Linked DNA regions of Homo sapiens: all the other regions are linked to region 4. Evidence: promoter capture Hi-C in 16 types of primary human blood cells and fetal thymus (Javierre and others, 2016). All regions are on one chromosome and are shown on one strand. Each heading gives the region's core, a stretch centred on a gene start or on the middle of the fragment in contact. The rest is flanking DNA. Distances are from core to core; before and after follow the strand shown. Region 1 has its middle 69 kb from the start of GC. Region 2 holds the start of LOC107986285 (a long non-coding RNA gene). Region 3 overlaps ADAMTS3 (ADAM metallopeptidase with thrombospondin type 1 motif 3). Region 4 holds the start of AMBN (ameloblastin). Region 5 overlaps ADAMTS3 (ADAM metallopeptidase with thrombospondin type 1 motif 3). Region 6 has its middle 250 kb from the start of NPFFR2. Region 7 has its middle 48 kb from the start of GC.

Region 1 (3,447 bases), core at 297-2,796, 1.1 Mb before region 4:
CAGCCATAAAAAATAATGAGTTCATGTCTTTGCAGAGACATGGATGAAGTTGGAAGCCATCATCCTCAGCACACTAACACAGGAATGGAAAACCAAACACTGAATGTTCTCACTCATAAAAGGGAGTTGAACAGTGAGAACACATGTACACAGGGAGGGGAACAACACACACCGGGGCCTGTCGGAGGGTTGGGGGCAAGGGGTGGGAGGGCATTAGGACAAATACCTAATGCACGTGAGGCTTAAAACCTAGATGACCGGTTGATAGGTGCAGCAAATCATCATGGCACATGTATACCCATGCAACAAACCTGCACATTCTGCACATGTATCCTGGGACTTAAAATAAATTTTTTTAAAAAGAAAATGTGGTACATATACACACAGGGTACTCATGTGGTATTCAGCCATAAAAAAGGATGATATCTTGTCATTTGCAACAACATGGATAGAACTGGAGATCCTTTTGTTAAATGAAGTAAGCCAGACACAAAAAGACAAACACTGCATGTTTTCACTTATTTGTGGGGTCTAAAAAATCAAAACACTCGAACTTACGGATATAGAAAATAGAAGAATGGTTTACCAGAGGCTGGGAATGGTAGTGAGGGGTTGGCGGGGGGCTGGGAATGGTTAATGGGTACAAAAAGTAGAAAGAGTGAATAAGACCTGCTATTTGATAGCACAGCAGGGAGACTATAATAGTCAATAATAGTCAATACTAACTTAATTGTACATTTCAAAATAACTAAGTGTGTAATTAGATTGTTTGTAACACAAAGGAGAAATGCTTGAAGGGATGGATACTCCATTCTTCATGATGTGATGATTTCACATTGCATGACTGTAACAAAACATTTCATATATACCATAAACATATACAACTACTATGTATGCAAAAATTTTTTTAAAATTAAAAGAAAAAAAACTAACTGCAACCCATTCTTAGTTATTCTAATAGCTTAAAATTGTTTACTATGTGCCAAACATTGTTCTAAACACTTTAACTGCAGTATGTCATATTCACACACACCAAAAAAAACTGTAAGATAGCTATAATAATTACACCAGTTTTATATTAGGAAACTAACACATACAGAGATTAAGTGATTGGCTACAAGTTAAATGATGGTGGTGGATCTCAACTAGATCCTGCCCTATCTCTGCCTATTAGGCATAGTGGTTAAAGAAAAGCAGCTTATCTAAATGATGGCCAAAGTTGTAATGGAGGAAATTGTTCTTGCTTCGGTCAGAAAGACATTTTTCTACCTATGTATCCAAACAAGCAGCCAGATTCCTTTTGTGTATTTTTGTTTGGGTTTAAAAGTTTTAATGCTTGCCTGCCTTCCTTCCTTCCTTCCTTCCTTCCTTCTTTCTATCTTTCTTTCTTTCTCTCATTGTCATTTTAAAATTACTGAATGTATATTGAAATTTTTCACTGTGTTTACAATCCTGCAAAATTGAAGATGATGACAAATGAGTACAGTGAAGATGGCAAGATGCTTGATGGTGGCTTCCACCTATGAGAGTGTCTTGGAGGAGCATACCTAGAGCATGTAAAAAAGGGGTGAAAAACCAAGAAATTCTCTAAAATCTCCATATGGGACATTTTAGAAATCATCCAAGAAAAAAAAGGACTGCTTTTTCCTGAGAGGAGCCCATGTTTGTCTCTGCCCTAGTTCCCCTGCTGTCTTTCAAAAGAACACAGTCAAACAGTTCTTACTTCCCAAGATAGATTGTTTTAAGAAAGAATCTAACAAATGTGACAAAGAAGGACCCACCATTTTAAGTAATGGTCCATTTCATGTATAGATACAACAAACCAGTTCTTAAGAATATTTAAAAGTGTATTATGGTAGATCTTATGTGCTATTTCATATGCAAAATAAATTTATCAAAAATAGAAATAAAAATGTTTTTGAAATCAGCTTCTTTAAAATTTGTTATAAAACTCCTTTACCACTATGACAATAATGGCATGAAGCATACTTTATACAATATATACTCGATTATTTACAGTCTATTCATCTGTTTTATTAACTATTTTTTAAAAAAATACTGAACAGCATTCTACTGCCATCCAGCCTACTTCCAGTATATCACAAGTTATTACGTGCCCAAGAAATGGAAATTTATTCTAGTATTAGCCTAAGATAAATAGACTAAGAATTACTTTTATCTTATAGGCCTTTTTGGAGGTTATGAGGCATCTTTCAGTGAATAAGAATGAGCAATATTAGCAGACGTATTTCCTAATGTTGACTCAATAAGGGGATAGCTATACTCTTTTCTGGTTTCCTCAACACCCCTGGCAGCCTCAGGTCTTGGAGTGCTCCTAAAGTTGCTAGGTTCTTGTTTTCATCCCTGTTAGTATCTAAGGATACAGCATCAAGAAACATCCTATATCTTTTATGCTTAGATGCTAACAGGAATGTAAACAAGAACCTAGCAACTTTAGGAGCACTCTGAGTGTAGGTATATAAGTATAGGTATAATTATAAGTACAGGTATATAAACATAAATGTATATAAATATGGATATACAGATATATGTCCCTATTACATACAAACATTTTCCTTTCCACTAATATAACCAAGACTTGACTGCCAAAATAGAAAGTTGAATGATATATGTGTGCTGAAAGCCTCAAAATACTTCAGGCAAATACTTTGATTTTGGATTCCATTAACTGAAAGAACCTTTTCTTTCCTATTTATAGAGTACCAGAGGAAAAGAACACTGAACCAAAACCAAAGAGACTGGAGTTTTACTCCCAGTTTTGCCTCCATTATATTTATTGTGTGACCTTGGAGAAGCCTGTCAATTCTTCACACTCAAACGCTCCCATCTGCAAAATGTTGGCAATAGACTAGAGAATCTTCAAAATCCCTATTCACCCCATATTCTTTGTATTCTCCTTCTTTGTGTGTGTGTATGTTTATGCTGCTCAATATGCAATATCTGAAACTGCTTTTGAAAATGTAAATTACTCAATTGACCCACTAGGTGGTAGCAAATTTCTGGTTACTGTATAATGGCAGGCTTCCAACCACTTCCATAACCTTCTAAATTCTGCCATCAAGAAGTTAGTGAAAAGGACTTCTTTGCCTTGTTTGTCAAAAATCATGAGTTTTATTCTCAGCTCTGTCATTTACTACTTGCATGATCTTGGGAAAATGAGTATTGCAGGGTTTTTGATTTCCCACCATAAAATCAAAGGGAGTCTTGCAGATCTAAAACTTTTTGCATATTGTTACCATAATAAAAAACAAGACATTTAAACAGTAATGTCCTCCTTTTTACTTTGAGCCATTCAAAAAGAAAAATTCCATTTTCTGTCTATGAGACATCAAGTAATTAATATTTTTTAGTTTCCTTATCTAAAAATTGGGGGAAATAATAGTGTCCATCCCTTAAAGGGTATTGTAATGATTGAATAAGATCACA
Region 2 (3,654 bases), core at 616-3,115, 1.0 Mb before region 4:
TGAGCCTATTTTTTTAATAGTCATATAATGCACAGTGTCTACTGTTTTTGTTTCAAAGGACTTTTATTTTACAGAGAGAAGCTTCCCTTTGTCAAATTTATATGTAATTTCACTTCTTGCACAACTATTAATAGTTATGAAATAGCTTATATTAACAGAGCAAACAGGTATTGAACATTTACTAACTTGCTAGGTATTGTGCTAAGCACTTTACTTTCATCATATTACTTAATCCATAGAACAGCCCTTTAAGACAGGAAAACTTATCCCCATTTAATATAGGAGGGCATTGAGAAATAAAGAAGATAAATAGCTTTATCAAGGTCACATAACAATTGGATAGCATTTCCAGGATTCAAAGCCTAGGGTGACACCAATATCCATACACCCAACTGCCTATATGTACTAGCTGCAATGTCAGGCACTAAGGTGCTCTCACATATGTTTCCCATTCAATTCCAATGCATAAAGTCTCTGTTATTCTTCTCCATTACAGAAGATATTACCAAGGCTCAAAAAATTTAAGAAATATGTCTAAATTTCCAAAGCAACAGATAATAACTGCCAGAGATGAAAGTCAAATGCAAGCCTGACTGACTCCTTGAGCAGGGCTTTTTCTACTACACTATGCACCTGTTAACAGAGTCAAATTATTCAAATGTGTTATAAGTTTAGTTATTTAAAAATTTCAAGGGACTAGCCTTAAATTATTAATATAATTGTGTTTGGCTATATTAAAATATGGCATTTGCTCAGATTGTTAATTCAATTACATTTGGGTGTAACAATAGAGAGTATGCACTACAGTTAATCACAGATGGCCAGCAATTTGTGGGAAGATGTCAGGGGAGACATCTATATGATAGAAGTTGTAATTTAACACCAGACAGTATAAATAGAAAGAGTTGAATAAACAAATCCAGGTGGCAGTGTGCCAACCAGTCAGAACTTAGGGAAAATAGATAAAACAAGGCAGGCAGGATCTAGAATCATTCATATACTTTAATCACAATAGTTAAGAACAGACCAAGCTGAGTTAAGGATCTGTCAAAGTCACACTAAACAATCTCAACCCATAGTCACCCCAGCCCTAGTACCAACTCCTTATTGTAACAGCCCCATAGTGAGAAAACCACATGCAAATGAAATAAACATTTATTAGAGACAGAGTCAGAAATATCTATTCCTTCCACTTTGAGGTAAGTGAGATCTAAGCCGGATTTAGGGGGTGGTTTGCCATGGAGAACAAGAATGATATCATAAAGATAAAGGATATGACAAGTATAAGAGTTACCTAAAACCTCTGCATCAAAGGGAGGGAAACAGACCTTCTGAGTCCTGCCAAGTTGTTGCTTCCCAAGCTGACTTCAATGGTGGAAAATATGAGTAATAAATCATGTAGATGTCCTTATTGTCTTGCCACACATAATCATTGATGCTTGGAAGGAAACCCTACAAGTCAGAAACAATGGGCTGGGATGAATACTTGGAAAGGTATACCATCTTCCTCTTAGCAGAATCAACATCACAAAGATGTCAATTCTCAACTTGCTTTGAAAAGCAAATACAGCACTCTCCTTTAAGTTTGGAGATACAAAGAGAGCCAACAACTTGGTCACTTTTAAGCACCTCTAGTTCTGGAAATTACAGAGGAAACTTAAAGAAAATTCTCTAGCAGAACAAAGGTAATTGATCAGTAGAGTCCCTGAACATAGGTTGGGAAGAAGCTTAACTAACAGTAAATCTCATTTCTCACTAGAAATTTTACAATCAAAGAGAGGGTATGGTAGTTTGGCTTCAGCTGGGGGAGGAGGTTGTTGTTGGGAAAGTGTTTGAGGAGGTGGGCAAAGAGGGAGCCTCTAATAATGGCAACAGGCTTAGAAATAGACCATGAAAATTTCAAGATCTACATTTAGATGTCATGTATACTAGCAGACTTGTGGGCTAAGAAACCTGGAACTTGTGCTTGCTTTTTGGAATAATAAGCAAAGCTGGGAAGCTTTCCCAGACTCCTAAGCTAGAAGAGAGATAAGGTAATAGCTCTTCCTGCATTTTTGCAGTCAAATTTATCTTCTCCCACTAGATTGCGAGCCCCTCACTAATAAAAGGTCTCCTAACACAGCAGGAGCTAAACAAATATTTATTGGTAGGAACTATTGAAATATACTAGTTTACTTGTCTTGCCCTAACTAATCTTAAAATTGCCCACTTCAGAAAAGAAATGACATGCCTCTATAGAGCTCTACGCAGACATTCCCTTCCGCTTTAGACCCAAACTAGTTTAAAATCTGATCATCTTAGTTTTTAAATATTTTTTTTTCTTGGGAAATTGTTGCCTGTTTGAGATACCCAGTTTGTTTCTGTCGCATTTTTCTTGCCTCTAACTCTGGATGGGTGGTCAGAGTCCTATAGTGTGGACACCATTCCACACAAGATATATGGGATCGGCATGGTCCAACGTGCCCTTGGACAGAAACATGAAGTCATTGAATTGTGACTTTGCCTTCTTCCTATGTCATCTATCTGTGGTCCTGATCAAGAAAACATTTTGTACATTTTCTTGTTATCATGACACTCATGTGAGTCTGTTGGGATCATACTTTAAATTCATTTATCTATTTCCTAATATCCCTGTTGAGGGTGCTGTGAGACTAGTCTACAGGTCAGCATGACTACCTCCATGAATGAGGGAGGGAGCAACGGACTCATATAAATAAGAAGAGAGAACATGAAAGTAGGTTACAGCACAGGTACCCATGCCTGAAGCTATGTTTTTTTGCCAGAATAGGATCTTGAGGGAGATAGGAGAGCCATCTAATTGAAAGATAACAGATAAAATGGAAACTGATAATAGGTTAATGACCTTATAGTGCATTCTGTGTGAGAAGGCAGCAGAGGTCACACTTCATCTGAGTCTCTGCTCATATGCTCCCCAACAAAGAAGCCTTCTCTGACCATGTTACTAAAACAATACACCTCCCCTTGCCAATCTCAGGTTCCTTACCCTGTTTTTTGTAGATATCTCACATGGATTATTGAATAAGGGCCAGACTCTGACTCCACGCTGTTTGGATTGAATCACAGCTTCATGATGATCACTCTGATGATCACTCTGATCTTATGACAAGCTATTCTAGGAAGCAGTAAGATTGGAATTTATAATAATTAATCTTAGCATCCAATCATAAATATGTGTAATTAGTCTGACTGTATAATTCTGAAACACAGCCCATTCTTAAAACCTCCTATGAGTAAGAAGAGACATGGGAAGAGTGAACTGGCTATATATACATTTAACAATTCACTTATTTAGCAAATATTTATCAAGTGTCTACCATGTGCAAGACATCCCTGGGCTCCTTGAAAGTTGTTCAAGAAGGGATGCAGACTTCTCTCAGCCACTCTTGTGGGAAGAAGTAGAAGGGGACTGTGAAGTTCTAACTTCTGAGTTAAGGTTTAAAGCCTCTATCTAATCACAGAACTTTCCTAACTCTAAAAATAGGAATAGTGCCTTGCTGATCATCTTGATTTTTTCTTTCTTAATAAGCTGTCTACTTCCTGAATGCACATGTGTGCGCACACACACACACACACACACACATCCACAATCTTTATTCCTGAATAACCTGGATTCTATAGTCAGAAGGAGAAAAA
Region 3 (3,686 bases), core at 43-2,542, 1.7 Mb before region 4:
TTAGGAGAGAAAAAATGTGTACAGTTCCAATAAAAACCAGGACAGTCATGCAATGTACAGTGTTTAAAATATGTGAGTAATAAACTTAGGAAAATTAAACTTTATTAGTTATCAAATAAATAACAACTAAAATCATGATATTTTTCCCATCCAATTAATAAAGGTGAAAATTATGTAACATGTAGTGTCAAATGGCCACTTTCATACACTCTCATTATTAAAGTAACAATTGTTCTAACTGTTCCGGAGGACCATTCACCAGTCTATCAGAAGAACTAGAATTATAAAAAGTGTTTGTTCCCTTCAGTCTACTAAGAAACGCCAGAAATCCCCACAAAGGTTGGGAAAATTTCTAATGAAAACAAATATTGAAGAGTTACCACACACTTATTAACAATAATACATAACAATTTTAGGATTACAGACTATGCTGACATTTAAAAGTATATTTTCTTTTTTTAACTTTTTTTTGTACAAGTGCAATTTAGCTACATTGATATCTTGCATTGTGGTAAAGTCAGGGCCTTCAGTGCATCCATCACTGGAGCAATGCACATTGTACCCACCAAGCAAGTTCCCATCATTCAGCCCTCCTTCCATTCCCTCTGACCCCTCTGAGTCTCCAATGACCATCATTCCACACTCCAAAAGCATGTTTTCAAAGAATATTTTGAGAAATGTGCATGTTACATGAAATAAACAAAGCCAGGAAAGTAAATATGTCTGTACACACACACACACACACACACACACACACACACACACACACACACAGAATGCAAATATCTTGAGGGACTATCACAATAATAAAAGTGACTGGTTTTCTCTAGTTAGGTAGAATTATGATTTTTCGTTTTCTTTCTATTTTTCCATAATGTATATATTTTCTGGAGGGAACATTACTATCTTTATCATCACAACACAACAATTTCCGTTGAAGACAATTTTAAAATGCACCAAAATTTTTAAATTTAAAAATTCAAAAAATTTAAAAATTTAAAAATTTTAATTTAAAAATTTTAATCCTTTAATTTTAATTATAATTCTTTACACTTAAAAGTTAAAATCCTTTAAAAAGGAGATGATATAATTTAAGGAAACCTACAGTGAACCTTATAAAGTTATTATTTTTATAATACAAACTCTTACTCCTCAGTGTATGTATTTTTTAACACTTTTATGTTAAAAGTTTTATAGATACTTCATCTTTTTCTTAAACAGGGCACATTTGCACTATGGTTTATAGAAATAAAAACATTATAATTTTTGAAACTATTTGAAAGTTTTCAGTTTTAATAAGAGCAATATTCTGAAATATTTGTAATTTTACACTCAAAATTTAAAACCCTCAGGTGATTTACATATTGATTTCATGTGTATGTTAGATTATACCTCAAGAAAATGATACCCGCTCTAGCCTGACATATAAGTACATCATCCATGAAGACTCTGTACCTACAATCAACAGCAACAATGTCATCCAGGAAGAATTAGATACTTTTGAGTGGGCTTTGAAGAGCTGGTCTCAGTGTTCCAAACCCTGTGGTGGAGGTAACCATTGAACACATTTATTATATTAAAATGTAATGCATATAAAAACCAATCTTGCTTCTACCTTTATTGCTGTCTCTAATCGAGGCCACAATCTGAGAAACACCAAACATAACCATCAAAACATCAATACAAAACATTTTTACTGAAATCTCAGAATCACCAAATCATAGGATTCCTTTCATAACAGTGACAGACCTTAAAATCCTCTTGCCCTTTTCTCTCAGGTCCTTTGTCTTGCATTTACTGTAGTGGTACCCTTAATCACTTTATTCTTCCCAAACTCCAAAACTCTCCCAAATTCAGTGTACTCTGGTCCTCATCTTTCTTCTTACCTACTTTTGCTTTCTGTATCTCTCTGCATTTCTACCAGAGTTAATAACAAAAGAGCTATTGGTTACATGACTGTGTAACTGACTATGCTATGTATTTGAAACCAGATACTGTTCTAAATGCTTTATATATCAATGCATGAATACTCACAATGGCCCTACGCAGTTGGTACTGTTGTTATCTCTGTTAAAGTGGTAGCAAAACTGAAGCACACAGAAGATAATTGCCCAGAGCCCATAGGATTCAAACCCAGATAACCTGGCTTCTGAACACATGCTCTCACTCACTGCACTGTGCTGCCTCCGTTCCCTCTCCAGAGTCCATTAAGCTGGATTTAATGTCTCTCAATTTCTCCCATCATCCATTCCTCTAGTTCTAAACAAGTGCTCCATTACCAATTTCCCACCATGGGCAGGAGAAGGCAAGAGGCTGTTACAAAAATGACAGCAAATAATTGAGAACAAAATTTGTATTAGGCAGTGCTTGTGTAAATTATTTATTTTATAATTTTAAGTTCAAGGCTGTATTTCTAAAGTGTTTTCTTGAGGGAAGAATACAATAGTTAAGTATTTTAAATGACATCTCTTTATCCATTACAAGATGCTTATTTAATTTGGACCCTCCCTTCTGCTGTACTCTCAACATTTACTTGGTCATAATATTTGTCAGATATACCTTCTTCATATCTACCACATCTATTCCTTCTTCACCAGACTCCAGTCACCACTTTGGGAGGGACGATTATTGCAATAGCCTTTTAACTAGTCAACTAATATTGATGTTCTTCTCTTCCTTAATTTACAGGGTAATTTTTCTTGAATGCATGCATGAATGAATGGTAAAATTATATTATTTCCCAGATTAAAATCCTTCAGTCTTCTAACATGTTGCCCTGAAGACACAACATCACTTTATGTAGCATTCTTTCTAAAAATGAATCCCTTGAATCTCATCATTAGAACACAGTTAAACAGGCCCAAATTTCGGAACATTTTATAAAACAAATAGTTTTTAAATTTCAAAACTAGTAAATGCCGTAAGACAAAAAGAGGTTCAGTAATTATTTCTGATTGATGGAGGCTGGAGACATAACAGTTAAACGCAACATATGATCCTTGACTGGAAAAGGATTGCCATAAATAACATGATAGGGACAACTGAACATTTTTGAATAGGTCTGTATGTTAGATAATAGCACTATGTCTATGTTAAATGTCCTGATTTTAAGAATTATATTATAGTTATATAAGAGAATGTACTTCTGAAATCTGTGCTGAAGTATTTAGGAGTGAAGGATCAGGATGTCCTCAACTTTCAAATGGTTCAGCAAAATTATATGTATATTTACACACATACACATATATAAAGAAATATAGCAAATGTGACATAGTCACAAAAGATCAATCTAGATGCAAGGTATACAAATATTGTTTTTTCTTACAACTTTTGGATAGGTTTGAATTTTTTCAAATTTATATACATAATTACAAATATAAAAGTTGATGTTTGAGAGACCCTCAGTAACTCCCTATAACCTTCAGGATAATGTCCAGAAACTTGTTAGACACTGAAGGCTTTCAAGATCTGATCCTTCCCTAACTCGTGCACTCTTCACACATGATCCTCTAGCCACATGAAGAAACCGCAGTTTTTCACACGTTATTTCCTTTGCTTGGAGAATAATTCTGCTTCATTTCCATTACCCCATACTATTTGAACTTCAGTATTCTGCTGAAGAAAAGTACTGATCCTCTAAGCTTTCCCCTCCCCTCCAAGTTACAGATCTCTTCCCTCTGTGTTCC
Region 4 (3,850 bases), core at 799-3,298:
TATGAGATCATTTCAATATATACTAGAATGGATCAGGTGTGGGACTGTAATACACAATTAGCCCCATCACTATGATATGTTTTGATTTATGAAACTTCAGCTCTCAGTCACACAATTTCATGTTTACAAGGTAAATTTGCTAGTTAATTACTAGCTTTAAATGGAATTATCTAGCTGAGTTTTGTAACCATAGAAATTTAGAGATAGTTCTTTTTGAAATGAAGAAAATGTATTTTTTTCAAAGAAATTTCCTCTTTCCATTTCAACTTTATAATGATAGCAATAAGTTGATAATAAAATTTCGCCATGCATTGTGGAGACTATCTAAGCTTTTAACTTTGAATGAGTGGAATAAGATCTAGAAATTGTCTTGGGACTATTTTAAATAACTTTTTAGTAGAAATATCATACTTCACTTACTGCTTTTTTTTTTTTTTTTTAAATGGAGTCTCACTCCGTCACCCAGGCTGGAGTGTAGTGGCACAATCTTGGCTTACTGCAACCTCCGCCTCCCAGGTTCAAGCAATTCTCCTGCCTCAGCCTCCCAAGTAGCTGGGATTACAGGTGCCCACCACCACGCCTGGCTAATTTTTGTATTTTTAGTAGAGACAGGGTTTAGCCATGTTGGCTAGGCTGGTCTCAAGCTCCTCACCTCAGGTCATCCTCCTGCCTCAACCTCCCAAAGTGCTGGGATTACAGGCGTGAGCCACCGCACCCGGCTATCACTTACCGCTTTTGGATTGCAAGACTGACATCTGAGCAACTATGGCTTTTGACTCAATAGGACTAAACCACTGGATTAAATCAAGTGAGTCTATGCGTGGACTCTCAGTCCATATCCCTTCAGTGTTGTTTGGAGTTCGACAATCAATAACCTTTTCTGGGACACACTCTAAAGACTGACTTACCGGCACTGCAAAACTCATTTCCAGGAGGCATAGGATCAGTATCAGGTCCTTCATTTTGAAAAGTGGAATCTAAAACATAATTAAGTTGGAGAATTAAATCAGATGAATTTTTATTCAGAATGGTTAAAAGACAATTTTTGAAAATGAGCCTGAGTCTCTGCTCTTACAAAAACCACCGGGATAAAGGTTAGAAGAACAAAAACAAAAACTAAATGTTACTAAACAACCGATTTGTATGTAGTAGTTTCTGAAATAAATTAACAAGCAATTAAAAAATATCTAAGCACGTTTTAAATGGATCTACAGCCTAAATAAGTATGTAGGAACAACCTCCATCGATATTCTTTGTGATATATTTCATTTCATAAAGTGAATTATGAGTTTAAAAATCCTTCCCACTAAGTAAAATATTGGTCTATAAGGTATTATTCACAGAAGTTTATACTTTGCTTACCCTTTGGGACACATTTTGAAATGCATGTGAAATGTAATGCAACTAAGTCATTTTATAACAAACCTTTATTTGCAGGAATAGAGGGTACATCATTGCATGTTTAGGTAATCTACGTAACCATGACAAAATTTTTCTTTTCAAATGAGAGTAAATTGGCTATCTTAATTTTCTTTGATGTTAGTGGAAAATATGTCTCAAATTTAGCTTTCCTCTTCCTAAAATGAATTATCTTTTAAAATTTATTCTATAAATTCAAAAAGCTCTTTATTCTTACATGAATAGAGATCTGAATAGCCTAGAAATTTACTCATCTTCTAATATTAAAAAGAATTAGGCACTATAATCAAAAACATTAAAAAAAACACAATCTATAAATAAAAGTCTTTTTTTTTTTCTTAGTTGAATGGGTGTTAGGCATGTCATCTCTGGGACATGCTAATGGATTACAACAAGCAATAATTCAGCTACTGGTGACAAATGAAGATAAATCCTCTTTATAAAAGCTGTCAGGAGATAGGAAAAAAAGAATTTACAGGAAACACATGGAAATCATAAAATCCCATTTTACCTTAGATGCTGACATGCACTGTGCTCTCAGGGCCTGATGATGCCAACCAAGATAGTTCTAAGAAAAGAAGATTAAAATTTTTTTCAGGACTGTGCGTGGGACTTGCTCTGTACTTCTCATTCAGGGAAGATTAGAAACCTTTATTTAAAGTGCCAATCCACCAATCAAAGTGAAGCAAAATGGCGAGGGGTGGCGGGGGGGAGTTGGGGCGGGAATCTCTGCTCCTGCAATTAGTCCACACCCTTTTATTGCGTGCAGGGACATTGGCCCAGTAGGGTCTCATTATTTTTAATTGTACTGCAGCCCCTGTACTTATTCAGAGAACTTGATAGCAGGGAAGGCAGTAAAGGAATAATGGACATAGGCTCTGAAGACAATTATTTTGGTGAGCTGGGGAAAATATATGTAAAATAGGTGCAAAACAAAACCTGTTTTGTGCAGGTTTTATCTGCAGATAAAGCTAGTGACCCAATGCTAGCATTCTTCAGGTTTTCACCCTCCTGTTTGTTGTAGTAAAAGAGACTACTGTCCTTCCCCCCAGCACACACAGAGTTTAAAAGAAAACACTAAAATGTTAGATGGAAAATTAATGTGTGTGATTTCTTCCTTGAATTTCCTAGATATTTTCATATCTGGAGATAATTGATTAGAGATAGCCAAGCTTTTGTAAGAAACTACAGTTGGACCCTTTGCAAGAATCAGGTTTACTTCAGGTAAACGTTTGGTGCATTTTAAAAAAAATCTGTGGGGACGGGGACGTAAATCAGAACATTCTCTATGAACCAAATCAATGGGCACAAGTGTCAGTTCACTCTTCAGATAGACACATTCCCAGGCATTAGTATCAAGCCAGGTTAATAAGACATATTTCGATCACTTAAAAGGTTAACGTCAACACAGATTGGTTTTTCTCCGTGAACAGATAATATCTTGGATGTGGATTGAATATTAGCTGCTTTTGTTACTTCTCTGCCCATCCTTGTCTTTCCAAAGTTGTGATTTCAGATATGGTAGGGATAAGCATTTAAGATTAGTTCTGAAGAAGGGATGAGTCAGTACACTCTTTAGGGAAGTAGGGATCTTGTCAATTACAGGGAACATTGAGGAAGCTGGTATTTTGAGAGAAAGCTGTATCCATACCCAAATGTAGGCCTAACAGCTTCAAATAATGTTATCTTAGAAGCTGCTCCTGAAAACCTCTGTGTTCCACTGATACCAGAATTATCTTTAGGATGCAAAGAAATGAAGAATGTGAATGTGTTTTGCAAACAGCAAAATGTTATTGAAATGAAAAGTATTATTTTTCATGCTGTCTCTGGTGCTTGATGCAGTCCCTTAATCTCTTTTGAGCCCCAGTTCCTTCTTCTGTTATGTAAGGATAATAATTAATGACCACAAGCTAGTCTTTTTTTTTTTTGAGACGGAGTCTCGCTGTGTTGCCCAGGCTGGAGTGCAGTGGTGTGATCTCAGCTCACTACAACCTCCGCCTCCTGGGTTCAGGCGACTCTACTGCCTCAGCCTCCTGAGCAGCTACGATTACAGGCCTGCGCCACCATGCCCGGCTAACTTTTTTTGTATTTTTAGTAGAGACAGGGTTTCCCCATGTTGGCCAGGTTGGTCTGAAACTACCGACCTCAGGTGATCCTCCTGTGTTGGCATCCCAAAGTGCTGGGATTACAGGCGTGAGCCACCACGCCCAGCCTGAGCTTGTCTTAAAGATTGGTGAGATGGTGAAGATGCAGCAGCTGCCATTTATTGGGTGCTGAATGAATGAGTTGATTGTCCTTTTGGTAGGAGAAACTACATGAAATATGAGACCACAAGAACTGTGTGTGTGTGTGTGTGTGTGTGTGTGTGTGTGTGTGTGCTGGAGGAGGAGGAGTGCTGGCAGCTAGGTTCATAAGCTCCAAGGAGGTAGAG
Region 5 (3,592 bases), core at 265-2,764, 1.7 Mb before region 4:
ATATAATTAAAGTGCTTAGCACAAGAAAGGCACGTATATATGTTAAATGGAATCCATTAAAGCCAGTCTTGCCTGTAACTATTCACATTAGATGTATATTTCATTAAATTTCCACATTGGTCTTTAGTAATTCATTAAAAAAAAAAAAAAAAGAAGGCCTTTTTCTATGTTGGAGCAAGCTTTGGGTGTTAGAGCAAGGAACGTAAGTGTTTCATGGGGCTAGAAAGAAATTGATCTGCTGTTTGAAACCTTCCATATACAACCATTTGGTCTGTCTATAAGGTATACACTGTGAGCTCCTAATTACTTGCATTAATGTTTTAAATCAGAGAATTCTAAAGCTTTGGCTTAATGTCATGGAAAAGTGGAATTTCCACATTCGATAATAAGGATTAGAACAAAAAACCCACATCTAAAAATGTGTACTAATAAAAAAATTTCTATGCACATAAGGGTGTATGTAGGTAATTAGCAGTATAGGCAATAGATATGTGGATTAGCTGTTGTTTGATATTTTTAAAAATATAATGATTGGTAAGATGTTTACATTTAGAGAGAAAAAGAGCAAACAAGCAAAGAGAACACACAAATACACATGTTTGCTTATACAAACATTTGGATATTATAATGTGGTGTGTTCAGAAAATAAAAACCATTCTGAAGAGTATGAAAACCAAGACTCTAGTCTTGTGCTGTTGCTGTCTTACTTATAACCATAACTATAGCCCTAACTTGTAACCCATATTTCTCAGCAATGGATTGGTATGAGAATCAAATATATGGAAAATATTTCATAAACTATATGAATGTATTATGATATTTTGTTGTACCTAGAATACTTTATCTTACACAGAAAGTTTGACAATTTTTTTCTGCTTTTAGTCAATTAATTATAAGTATTTATGATTATTATTATTATTATTATTATTTTGAGATAGTGTCTCACTGTTGTCACTCAGGCTGGAGGGTACAGTGGCTTGATCTCGGCTCACTGCAACCTCCACATCCTGGGTTCCAGCGATTCTCCTGCCTCAGCCTCCCAAGTAGCTGGAATTAGAGGCATGCACCAACATGCCTGGCCAATTTTTTTGTGTTTTTAGTAGAGACAGGGTTTCACTATGTTGACCAGGCTGGTCTTGAACTCCTGACCTCAGGTGATCCACCCATCTCAGCCTCCCAAAGTGCTGGGATTACAGGCATGAGCCACTGTGCCCAGCCCTTTTATTATTTATATTCAACTATCTATCTGATACCTACAGAGATAAAGAAAAGACATTTTGATAGCTTGAGAGCTGCCAAACCATTATATTTTCATATTTACAATATTCATGATAATTACTAAGTCTTTAGAAAATTTCAACATTGTCTATTTGAAAAACAAAACATAAAAACAGCAAGCAAAAACCTTAAAAGTCAACCAGATAATCTCAGACAAATCATTGTTTATCATTGTTATTTTAGAAAAGCAGAATAAAAGTATTTTCTACCTGAAATTCTTATGCAGTTTTTTTTCAACATGTCAAAACATTGGCTATTAACTTGAAATAAACACATCCAAGAAACAGGACAGAAGAAACTGTATAGAATATATTTTTGGTGCATGTCATGCTAGCTGAGAGTTCACTGACAATTTGATTATCTATCTTCCAGTTCCGAACCTTTGACCCATGTAAACAGCTGTGGTGTAGCCATCCTGATAATCCCTACTTTTGTAAGACTAAAAAGGGACCTCCACTTGATGGGACTGAATGTGCTGCTGGAAAAGTGAGTATATCTATTTACACAATAAATATGTAAGATATGTTGCATAATTATCATCTTTAAAGGTCTGGAAAATGGTAAACACAGCTGCACTGTCATTTTTATGAAAACCATAGTATGCAAGGCTTTATTAAAGTAATGTACTAAAATAGTGTACTAGTTCCCTGTGGCTAAGGTAACAAATTTTCACAAACTTGTTGGCTTGAAACAATGGATATTTATTCCCTCACAGTTCTAGAGGCCAGAAGTCAAAAATCAATTTCAATGAACTGAAATCAGTGTGTGGGCAGGGCCATTCTCCCTCCAAAGGCTGTAGTGGAGAATCTTTTCTTTGCTTCTCCCAGCATCTGGTGGCCACCCCACATTTCTTGATTTGTGGCTGCACCACTCCAGTTTCTGCTTCTGTGGCCACATTGCGTTTTCCTCATCTTTATGGGTCAAATCTCCTTCTACCCCTCTCTTATAAGGATACATGTAACAGCATTTAGGACCCCATGGATAATCTGGGATAATCTCTCCATTTTAAAATATTTAAGTTAATCACATTTGCAAAGACCCTTTTTCCAAATAAGGTAACATTTACAGGTTCCGGGGATTAAGACTTGATATCTTTGGGACTACCATTCAGCCCACTGTTGGCAGAATAGGAAGAAGCAACTCAGCAGACTATCTGCCCCCTGGTAGTGGGATCTGATTGACTTGCTGGCATGCCATTCCTTGTGAAAGTTGCCCAGAAATAAAGTCATGTGAACTTATACAGAAGATTTGGCCTTGTTCCTTAGGGAAGGATGCCCAGAGGTTTTAAATCTCAAATTGTGTAGTCAGGATTGAATGCTCAGAAATTGGCTGAGTGCCAAGCTATGCTACTCATAAGGGCAAAGATCCCAAAACAAAGGCATGTTAAGAACTCAAGTTGAAAAGCTTTGACTAGTTTAGAAATAAGAAATTGTAGGCAGGACCAAAACCTGGTACAGAAGATTTATATGGCATTTACTTCTTTTAAAGCTCAATTTCAAATGTGTATAAACTGTACTTGTGACAGGGATTATATGCATAATAATAATAAAACCTGTCTTTTTAAGTGTTTGCATTATATTAGGCACTATGCAAAGCACCTTGTATACAATGTTTTGCTTTGGGAAAATTCAATATCATAAACTTCTGACTAAAAACAAGAGTATAACGAGTTAATTCATTTTTGCTTTATAAAAAATTATATAATTAACTTTTTAACATTCAACTTTCTTAAATATATTGGTGTTATATTGAAATTTATAGAAGTTGAGTTTTAACAAATGCTTTTATTGTACGTAGTGTGAAAAAGTAAGTCAAAATGTTAGAGAGGAAAATGGCTAATGTCTCTTGAGCACCATGCCAGGCACTGTAAGCTAGGTGCCTCTATAGTATTAGGGTTCTGGTAGCCCCACTTAATTACTTCTTGGTCAGATGGCCTTCAACTACTTATGAACCTTTCTGGGCCTCAATTTTCCTCATCTAATTGTTGATGATATATGTATGACCCATCTATCTCTCAGAATCATTGTTAATGAAACATTTTAAAAGTTAAATAAAAGTGCTTTGAAAGCTGCATATGTTTTAGACATGTTATATTATTATCTAAACCAAGACATAGTTTATTTTATCATTTTTAAAAAGATCATGTAGCCCTCAAAATATTCTGGTATGATATAGGTAGTGACAGATGAAGGGTAAAATCTTACCAACTGTGCAAGCTGGGTGCTCAAAGAGTTCTTATTGATTATAGTGTTTGATGCTTACTGGTGAATGTATCATTTAAAAACTTGTCTGAGTGAATGTTGTTTTTCCATTT
Region 6 (3,681 bases), core at 1,101-3,600, 1.7 Mb before region 4:
AAAACCACCTTAGAGTGCACAGATGTTATCTAAAAACATCAAACTAATATTAGAAATATTCACTTTGGGCCCAGATACTTTGAGATAGTTCATGTAGAGCCAGAGACAAAATTTTTAAATTTACTACAATACTGCCTACTAAAATAAAGCATAATTTAATAAAATAAATTTAACATAAGAAATAGACATTCTAAAAGAAAACAAGGTGCTGTAACTTCTGCAAAATTATCATAGAGTTTACCTAAAAATTGGAATTACCTTTTAAACTGCCTTCTTTCCTGGTAAATTGGCAGGTGTCTAAATGCTGATCATCTGCTTTGTGGCAACAAACTAATGTTACTGCATTAAAACTGTTGCTTGGAAAGGCTATTTTTCAGCCAATTCATAGTTTCAAGAGAATTGTTGATTTGACCAATTAGCTTTCAACCACTGGATTGTTAACAATTCACCTGGGACTGAGTAGTGTTGTTTTTGTTCATTTGTTTAATCTACCCAAAACTCCAAATTAGTCTCTCACAGAAGAGAACGATTATTCATAGCCAAGTGTTATGCACATATCACCAATCTTACTATCCTGTATGGTTGAAACCTAAATAACAAAGCTCTTCCACAATCTGCTATTGAATAAACAAATGGTGCTAAAATCACAAATCTACACAAAGAACAACTCTTTCAGATGAGATATTTGGAGACTTACAAGAAGATACTCGCTCCCACTAGTAGTTAAAGGTAAAAACAAACTTCTCATGGTGGAAGATACAGAGCCAGTAGGTCTGCTTGCTATTCCTGAAACAAAATGACAAGATTTCTAAATTTCTGAAGAAGTTATGATACTCTGGTTATTGTGAGCACTAAAATCAGACTGCTGGTTTACCTCCTGGTTCTGAAGTCAGCTAATGGTGACTTGGAGGAGTTACTTAATGTGACTAAGCCCACTTGTTTTATATGTAAAATGAAAATGATAACAGTACATACTTCATAAAGCTGTTTGAGCAAAAAAAATTGAGAATCCTGGAAAAACAATAAACACAGTACCTCATGGGATAGACATTAAGTGTTTGGTAAAAGATTGCAATTGTTATTTTCTCCAGAATATCTATTTTTTAAAAATGTATCTTTTGATGGATGATCAACAAACTTCAAAGGATTCCATTTGAATATTTTAAACCAAGGAAATGACTTCCACAAAGTCCCTTCTGCCCAAAAGTATCCCATGTGCCCAAAAGAATGTGGAACACAAGAATAGAAGCAGAAAGTTATATGAACTATGTATATAATGCAACAGGTTTTTCATAATAGGCACAACCTGGCAAATGACTCCAAAGATTAAGGCAACTGCTTTTTCTATGGTGGCATCATGTACTACAAGATATTGTCCTCAGACTTGCTGCCACCAAGTTAATCCTCTTCTCTTGATGACAGCCTTTCTCTGGGACCTGGAGAAGGGGCTCTTGGTCTTATATGCCAAGGGAAGAAGGGCTCATATATACCCTTTAATTGTAATTGAACTATATACATTTTGTCCCTGGACAAACAAAAGAAAATCTATTTTGTATTCATTAGTACCTAGAACTGTGCCCTGCCCATGGCACAAACTTTGTAACTATAACATCTACTACATTCTATAAAAACTCTGCTGCCAAAAACAGATTTCTTGGAGCTATGACTGTGGTATCCCTTCTGTTTTTAGACTTTTTATGTCTCTGTTAACTTGTTTGACAGGAACAGGAACTAGCTAGTGTTGAAACGGAAAGGATCTTTAGATATTATCTAGCCTAGCACTCTTCCTTTTCCAGGAATAGGATTAGGACCCAAAGGTAATGTCTCCAAAATCTCATTTGTGAATTTGGATGTAACTGGGATTAGAAGAGAGATTAGTATTCCAACTTTCAGTTCATTTTTTCTCCCATAGCCAGGACGCGTCTATTCCATAAAAATAAGGGACTCCAATGAAAGGGAAGTCAATTATCCCAAGATCAGCAAGTGTCTGTGTGATCATCCTAAAGAAGAGAGTTGAAGTGTGCATTTTGACAGCTAATATGTGAAGGTCTAAGAGTGAAGTACTTTGCACTTCCAAATGAACCTACTGCAACTACCATATTACCCAGAAATGTGTCCAGCTATATGCTAGGGACATCTTCATTTGTATATATTGGCAACAGGAATGAGTTACATTTCTATAGCCTTTTCAGAAGACCTGTCCAAAATAATGGAATGTATTAAATAATATTCTGGTTTTGTGTAGAGTGGGGCATTGCAACGCTTATTTTTACATCTCAGATGTTGCATGGTGTGTGGAGATAGCAACATATCGTCTAGTGGAATGCTTTAGTTAATTTCCACAACATTCCTAACATGGAGATTCAGTTGTTAGAAGCAGCAGCCACTCTGATTCCATCTGCTTTTGCTCTGGGTTTTCATGACCATTAGAAATGTTCTTGAATGATGTGAGTGATCTGGATAGTCTCTTCAGCCATATAGCCAGGTCTATGATTTTCTTCCCTTCGTATTTGTTCTTCTGACTTGAATCTTTAGTGTTTTCTTATACAGATTTACTAAATTTTCAAGCAGGCCCAGGTCTGCATTATCATACAAGAAAGAATCAAACTTTTGCTTGACTCTGTTTCTGCTTCTTGACCCACTTTCTGATCTCCTTTCTTCACCACCAAACTTCTCAAGGGGCTGGCTTACATTCTCTGCCTCTCCTCTTTCCTACCCTTACCAGCATTCACTCTGGGGCCCACTGCAGCCTGTATTCTACCCCAAGAACACAACAGAAGAAGCACTCTCAAAAGTCATTCCTAATTACTCCTTCTCACTTGGAGAATTCATGGATTCAACAAACTTTTATTATGCTCTGATTGTGTGCCAGACAGCATTCTAGGTGCTTAAAATATAGTAGTGAGAAAATAACGAAAATTCCTGCTGTCCTATAGAGGGTACATTGTAGTGGAGGAAACACAGCAAACAATAACCACCATGCATGGTTTTGATATCAAGTATGTTAAAAAGTGATTAAGAAGAGCATAGTGCAGTACTGAGTGGGAGAGTAGTGGTAGAACTCATTTAGAGGGTGAAAAACTTGAAGAAAGTAAGAAAATTATCTCTACAATCTCTGGGGAAGAACATTCCAGGAAAAAGCAGCATCCAGTGCAAAGGCCCTAAAGTGCAATATGTCTGGTAAGTGCAAGGAACAGCAACAAGGACAGTGAAGTGGATATGATGCTTGATGGGGTCACTAGGAGAAGATAAAAGGAAATAAGAGATGAGAAATCACACACAATCTCGTGGGTCGGTATAAAAACTCTGGCCTTCATTTTTCCCAGATTCTCTCCAGCATTACATGGCCTTGGTGAGAAGAACTCAGGATTTGGTCTCATGCAACTTGGGTTTAAATCCTGCCTTCCACTCACGAACCGTAGGACTTGTTTCTTTAGTATGTAGTTCCCTCATCTACAAAGTTGAATGAAAGTATTATCTGACAGACTTCTAGTGTGAATCAAATGAGCTCATGTGCCTAAAAATGTATTTTTAAGGATACTATTACAATTGATTTTATTGTAAATTTTTATATTATAGACTTTGCTATTGTACAGTCTGGTATTACATAATTTATATGTCAGATGGGAATTTGTAGGATATCCAGGGCAACACTCTCTGACCCCTCATTCTCAGTCCCAT
Region 7 (3,478 bases), core at 472-2,971, 1.1 Mb before region 4:
TGCCACCAGTCTCTTGCTGAAACGTAACAAGTCATCTTTGCTCCAGTTCCCAACAAGTTCCTCATCTCCATTTGAGACCACTTCAGCCTGGACCCTATTGTCCATATGGCTGACAGGCTTCTGGTCAAAGCCATTCAACAAGTTTCTAGGAAGTTTCAAACTTTCCAACATTTTTCTGTCTTCTTCTGAGCCCTCCAAACTGTTTCAACCCCTGCCTGTTATCCAGTTCCAAACTTGTTTCCACATATTTGGGTATCTTTTCAGTGGTTCTCCACCCTACTGGTACCAATTTACTGTATTAGTCTGTTTTCATGCTGCTGATCAATACATACCCAAGACTGGGCAACTTCACAGTTCCGTGTGGTAGGGGAAGCCTCACATTAATGACAGAAGGAAAGCAGGAGCAAGTCACATCTTACATGGATGGCGGCAGGCAAAGAGAGCTTGTGTGGGAAAACTCTCCCTTATAATAACCTTCAGATATCATGAGACTTACTCACTATCATGAGAACAGCATGGGAAAGACCTGGCCTCATGATTCAGTTACCTCCCACTGGGTCCCTCCCACAACACACGGGAAGTCAAGATGAGATTTGGGTGGGGACACAGACAAACCATATCAAATTTGTTTCTAAGAATGATGTTTACAAGTTCTATCAGTTAGGATTCTCCAAGGAAACAGCAGGAGATAAAGAGATTTATTTTAAGAAATTGCTTATGCAGTTGTGAAGCTGGCAAGTCTGAAATAGTCTAGAAACACAGGCAGGATTTCTTTTTTTTTTTTTTTTAAACGGAGTCTTGCTCTGTCACCCAGGTTGGAGTGCAGTGGCACAATCTCAGCTCACTACAACCTCTGCCTCCTGGGTTCAAGCTATTCTTCTGCCTCAGCCTCCCGAGTAGCTGGGACTACAGGTGTGCACCACCACACCCAGCTAATTTTTTTGTATTTTTAATAGAGATGGAGTGTCACCATATTGGTCAAGCTGGTCTCAAACTCCTGACCTCATGATCTGCCTGCCGTGGCCTCCCAAAGTGCTGGGATTACAGGCATGAGCCACCACACCCAGCCCACCAGCAGGATTTCTACGTTACAGTGTTGAGGTTGAATTCTTCTTTTCTGGAAAAACCTGATTTTGCTCTTAAGGCTTTCAACTGGATGACATTCACTCAGATTATCACATTATCAATGGTTAGCTCCTTTACTTAAGGTCAACTTATGGTAAATGTTAATCACATGTGCAAAATCTCTTTCCAGCAATGTCCAGACTAATGTTTCACCAAACAAATGATTAGCATAGCCTAGACAAATTGGCACATACAATTTAACTATCTCACAAACTTTCTCTTGTCATCTATAAGGTCTAAAGTCTTTCAAGTTGCAGTATTGACTTCCTGTGTTTCTCTGGATTCCGAGATCATCCCACAAGTCGTTCTTATATATCACCTGGGAACCATCACCTTAAATGGTCTTCACGGGATTAGAGTATTAATATCTCACCTGGAAGTTCTAAAGAAACAAAGCTTCTTTTTATGATGATTTTAATTTAAAAACATAACAAGTGAAAGGCCTTTCTAATGTGTCATTTAATTCAATAGCAATAGGCCCTAATGAAGCAAGAATTTGATCAGCTTGAGAGTTTACCCAATTTCCATTTGGAGATAAATAGCTCAAATAGGAAGGCTTAGAAGGTTGTTTTTACATCTCTGGTCTCCCTGGTGTGCACTTCTCCCCAACACAGAGGTCTCATCCTTCCCCAACCTATAAATGTGATTCCCAACCCTAGCTGCATCTTAGAATTATATGGAGAGTTCTGGAAAAAATACCAGTGCCCAGGCACCCCCTCAGAGATTCAGATTTAAGCTATCTTGAGTGAAACATGCCCTGCAACCAAACCTGCCAATCACTGCTTTAGAAGCTTGGTGCCTTCACCCAAATTAGAAAGGGAAAAGCACTTTAGATTAACCAATTAAAGAGGTTGGCCACATAACTAATGAAACTGTAGCAAGTGTAAATTTCCAACATTGTATTATCTCAGTCTGCACTGCATTTTGAGTATTTTTGTCCTTAATTATAAAATAAACTCTTATTCCCACTAAACAGATCTCAGTCATTGATAATCAGGTCAAAAGATTCTCTTTCCCAGAGGCTATTTTATCCTTGTCCATTTTTTCCAGGACCTGAAATATTCTTTTCTCTCTATTAGGCCAAGAAAACATCTAATTGTTTCTTCCATGACAACCACCACCACAAGGCTACTAGTTTCATAGCTAAAGCATTCTGGAAAATTCTAGTTTGCAATTAACAATAGTAGTACCTTATTGCCCATCCATGGATAAGGCACTTGGGATTCATACAATGCTTCTACTCAAGTAAAAAAGTTTCTAACAATGGATTGACTGTCTATGTCTATTCTTTTCAATATCAAAAGTATATGAGTAGATTGCAAAAATTTTCTCCCATTCTGTAGGTTGCCTGTTCACTCTGATGGTAGTTTCTTTTGCTGTGCAGAAGCTCTTTAGTTTAATTAGATCCCATTTGTCAACTTTGGCTTTTGTTGCCATTGCTTTTGCTGTTTCAGACATGAAGTCCTTGCGCATGCCTATGTCCTAAATGGTATTGCCTAGGTTTTCTTCTAGGGTTTTTATGGTTTTAGGTCTCACATATAAGTCTTTAATCCATCTTGAATTAATTTTTGTATAAGGTGTAAGGAAGGGATCCAGTTTCAGCTTTCTACATATGGCTAGTCAGTTTTCCCAGCACCATTTATTAAATAGGGAATCCTTTCCCTATTTCTTGTTTTTCTCAGGTTTGTCAAAGATCAGATGGTTGTAGATATGCGGCATTATTTCTGAGGGCTCTGTTCTGTTCCATGGGTCTATATCTCTGTTTTGGTACCAGTACCATGCTGTTTTGGTTACTGTAGCCTTGTAGTATAGTTTGAAGGCCGGTAGCGTGATGCCTCCAGCTTTGTTCTTTTGGCTTAGGATTGACTTGGTGATGCGGGCTCTTTTTTGGTTCCATATGAACTTTCAAGTAGTTTTTTCCAATTCTGTGAAGAAAGTCATTGGTAGCTTGATGGGTATGGCATTGAATCTATAAATTACCTTGGGCAGTATGGCCATTTTCACGATATTGATTCTTCCTACCCATGAGCATGGAATGTTCTTCCATTTGTTTGTATCCTCTTTTATTTCATTGAGCAGTGGTTTGTAGTTCTCCTTGAAGAGGTCCTTCACATCCCTTGTAAGTTGGATTCCTAGGTATTTTATTCTCTTCGAAGCAATTGTGAATGGGACTTCACTCATGATTTGGCTCTCTGTTTGTCTGTTATTGGTGTATAAGAATGCTTGTGATTTTTGTACATTGATTTTGTATCCTGAGACTTTGCTGAAGTTGCTTATCAGCTTAAGGAGATTTTGGGCTGAGACGATGGGGTTTTCTAGATATACAATCATGTCATCTGCAAACAGGGACAAT

What was found. Contacts are between HindIII fragments. The CHiCAGO score rates a contact against its expected background, and 5 or more counts as called.
Region 1: a contact is called between a fragment that was not itself captured here and the fragment with the promoter of AMBN in region 4, in 2 of 17 cell types (M2 macrophages and fetal thymus). The highest score is 6.6, in M2 macrophages.
Region 2: a contact is called between a fragment that was not itself captured here and the fragment with the promoter of AMBN in region 4, in 1 of 17 cell types (fetal thymus). The highest score is 6.3, in fetal thymus.
Region 3: a contact is called between a fragment that was not itself captured here and the fragment with the promoter of AMBN in region 4, in 9 of 17 cell types (naive CD4 T cells, fetal thymus, naive B cells and 6 more). The highest score is 9.1, in naive CD4 T cells.
Region 5: a fragment that was not itself captured here is called in contact with the fragment with the promoter of AMBN in region 4 in 4 of 17 cell types (total B cells, non-activated CD4 T cells, M2 macrophages and 1 more); the score reaches 7.6 in total B cells.
Region 6: a contact is called between a fragment that was not itself captured here and the fragment with the promoter of AMBN in region 4, in 1 of 17 cell types (total CD4 T cells). The highest score is 6.6, in total CD4 T cells.
Region 7: a fragment that was not itself captured here is called in contact with the fragment with the promoter of AMBN in region 4 in 4 of 17 cell types (total B cells, fetal thymus, M0 macrophages and 1 more); the score reaches 6.9 in total B cells.

What each region holds. Positions count from the first base shown.
Region 1 is chr4:71,713,364-71,716,810 of GRCh38, reverse strand. No RefSeq gene overlaps it. Among named protein-coding and RNA genes, the nearest start is that of GC, 69 kb to the left of the region's middle. The HindIII fragment of the contact is 7,070 bases long and covers 1-3,447 here.
Region 2 is chr4:71,591,370-71,595,023 of GRCh38, reverse strand. LOC107986285 (a long non-coding RNA gene) reads right to left here and starts at 1,509. Exons shown (of 4, transcript XR_001741716.2): 1 at 1,329-1,509. RefSeq lists an enhancer at 1,260-1,969. The HindIII fragment of the contact is 272 bases long and covers 1,730-2,001 here.
Region 3 is chr4:72,296,142-72,299,827 of GRCh38, reverse strand. ADAMTS3 (ADAM metallopeptidase with thrombospondin type 1 motif 3) reads left to right here. Exons shown (of 22, transcript NM_014243.3): 18 at 1,386-1,551. Among named protein-coding and RNA genes, the nearest start is that of NPFFR2, 270 kb to the right of the region's middle. The HindIII fragment of the contact is 4,703 bases long and covers 1-3,643 here.
Region 4 is chr4:70,590,454-70,594,303 of GRCh38, reverse strand. AMBN (ameloblastin) reads right to left here and starts at 2,048. Exons shown (of 13, transcript NM_016519.6): 1 at 1,931-2,048; 2 at 909-977. The coding sequence starts at 1,945. The HindIII fragment of the contact is 2,262 bases long and covers 332-2,593 here.
Region 5 is chr4:72,314,030-72,317,621 of GRCh38, reverse strand. It overlaps ADAMTS3 (ADAM metallopeptidase with thrombospondin type 1 motif 3), which reads left to right. Exons shown (of 22, transcript NM_014243.3): 11 at 1,651-1,764. Among named protein-coding and RNA genes, the nearest start is that of ADAMTS3, 250 kb to the left of the region's middle. The HindIII fragment of the contact is 2,341 bases long and covers 344-2,684 here.
Region 6 is chr4:72,275,677-72,279,357 of GRCh38, reverse strand. No RefSeq gene overlaps it. Among named protein-coding and RNA genes, the nearest start is that of NPFFR2, 250 kb to the right of the region's middle. The HindIII fragment of the contact is 7,237 bases long and covers 1-3,681 here.
Region 7 is chr4:71,734,350-71,737,827 of GRCh38, reverse strand. No RefSeq gene overlaps it. Among named protein-coding and RNA genes, the nearest start is that of GC, 48 kb to the left of the region's middle. The HindIII fragment of the contact is 395 bases long and covers 1,524-1,918 here.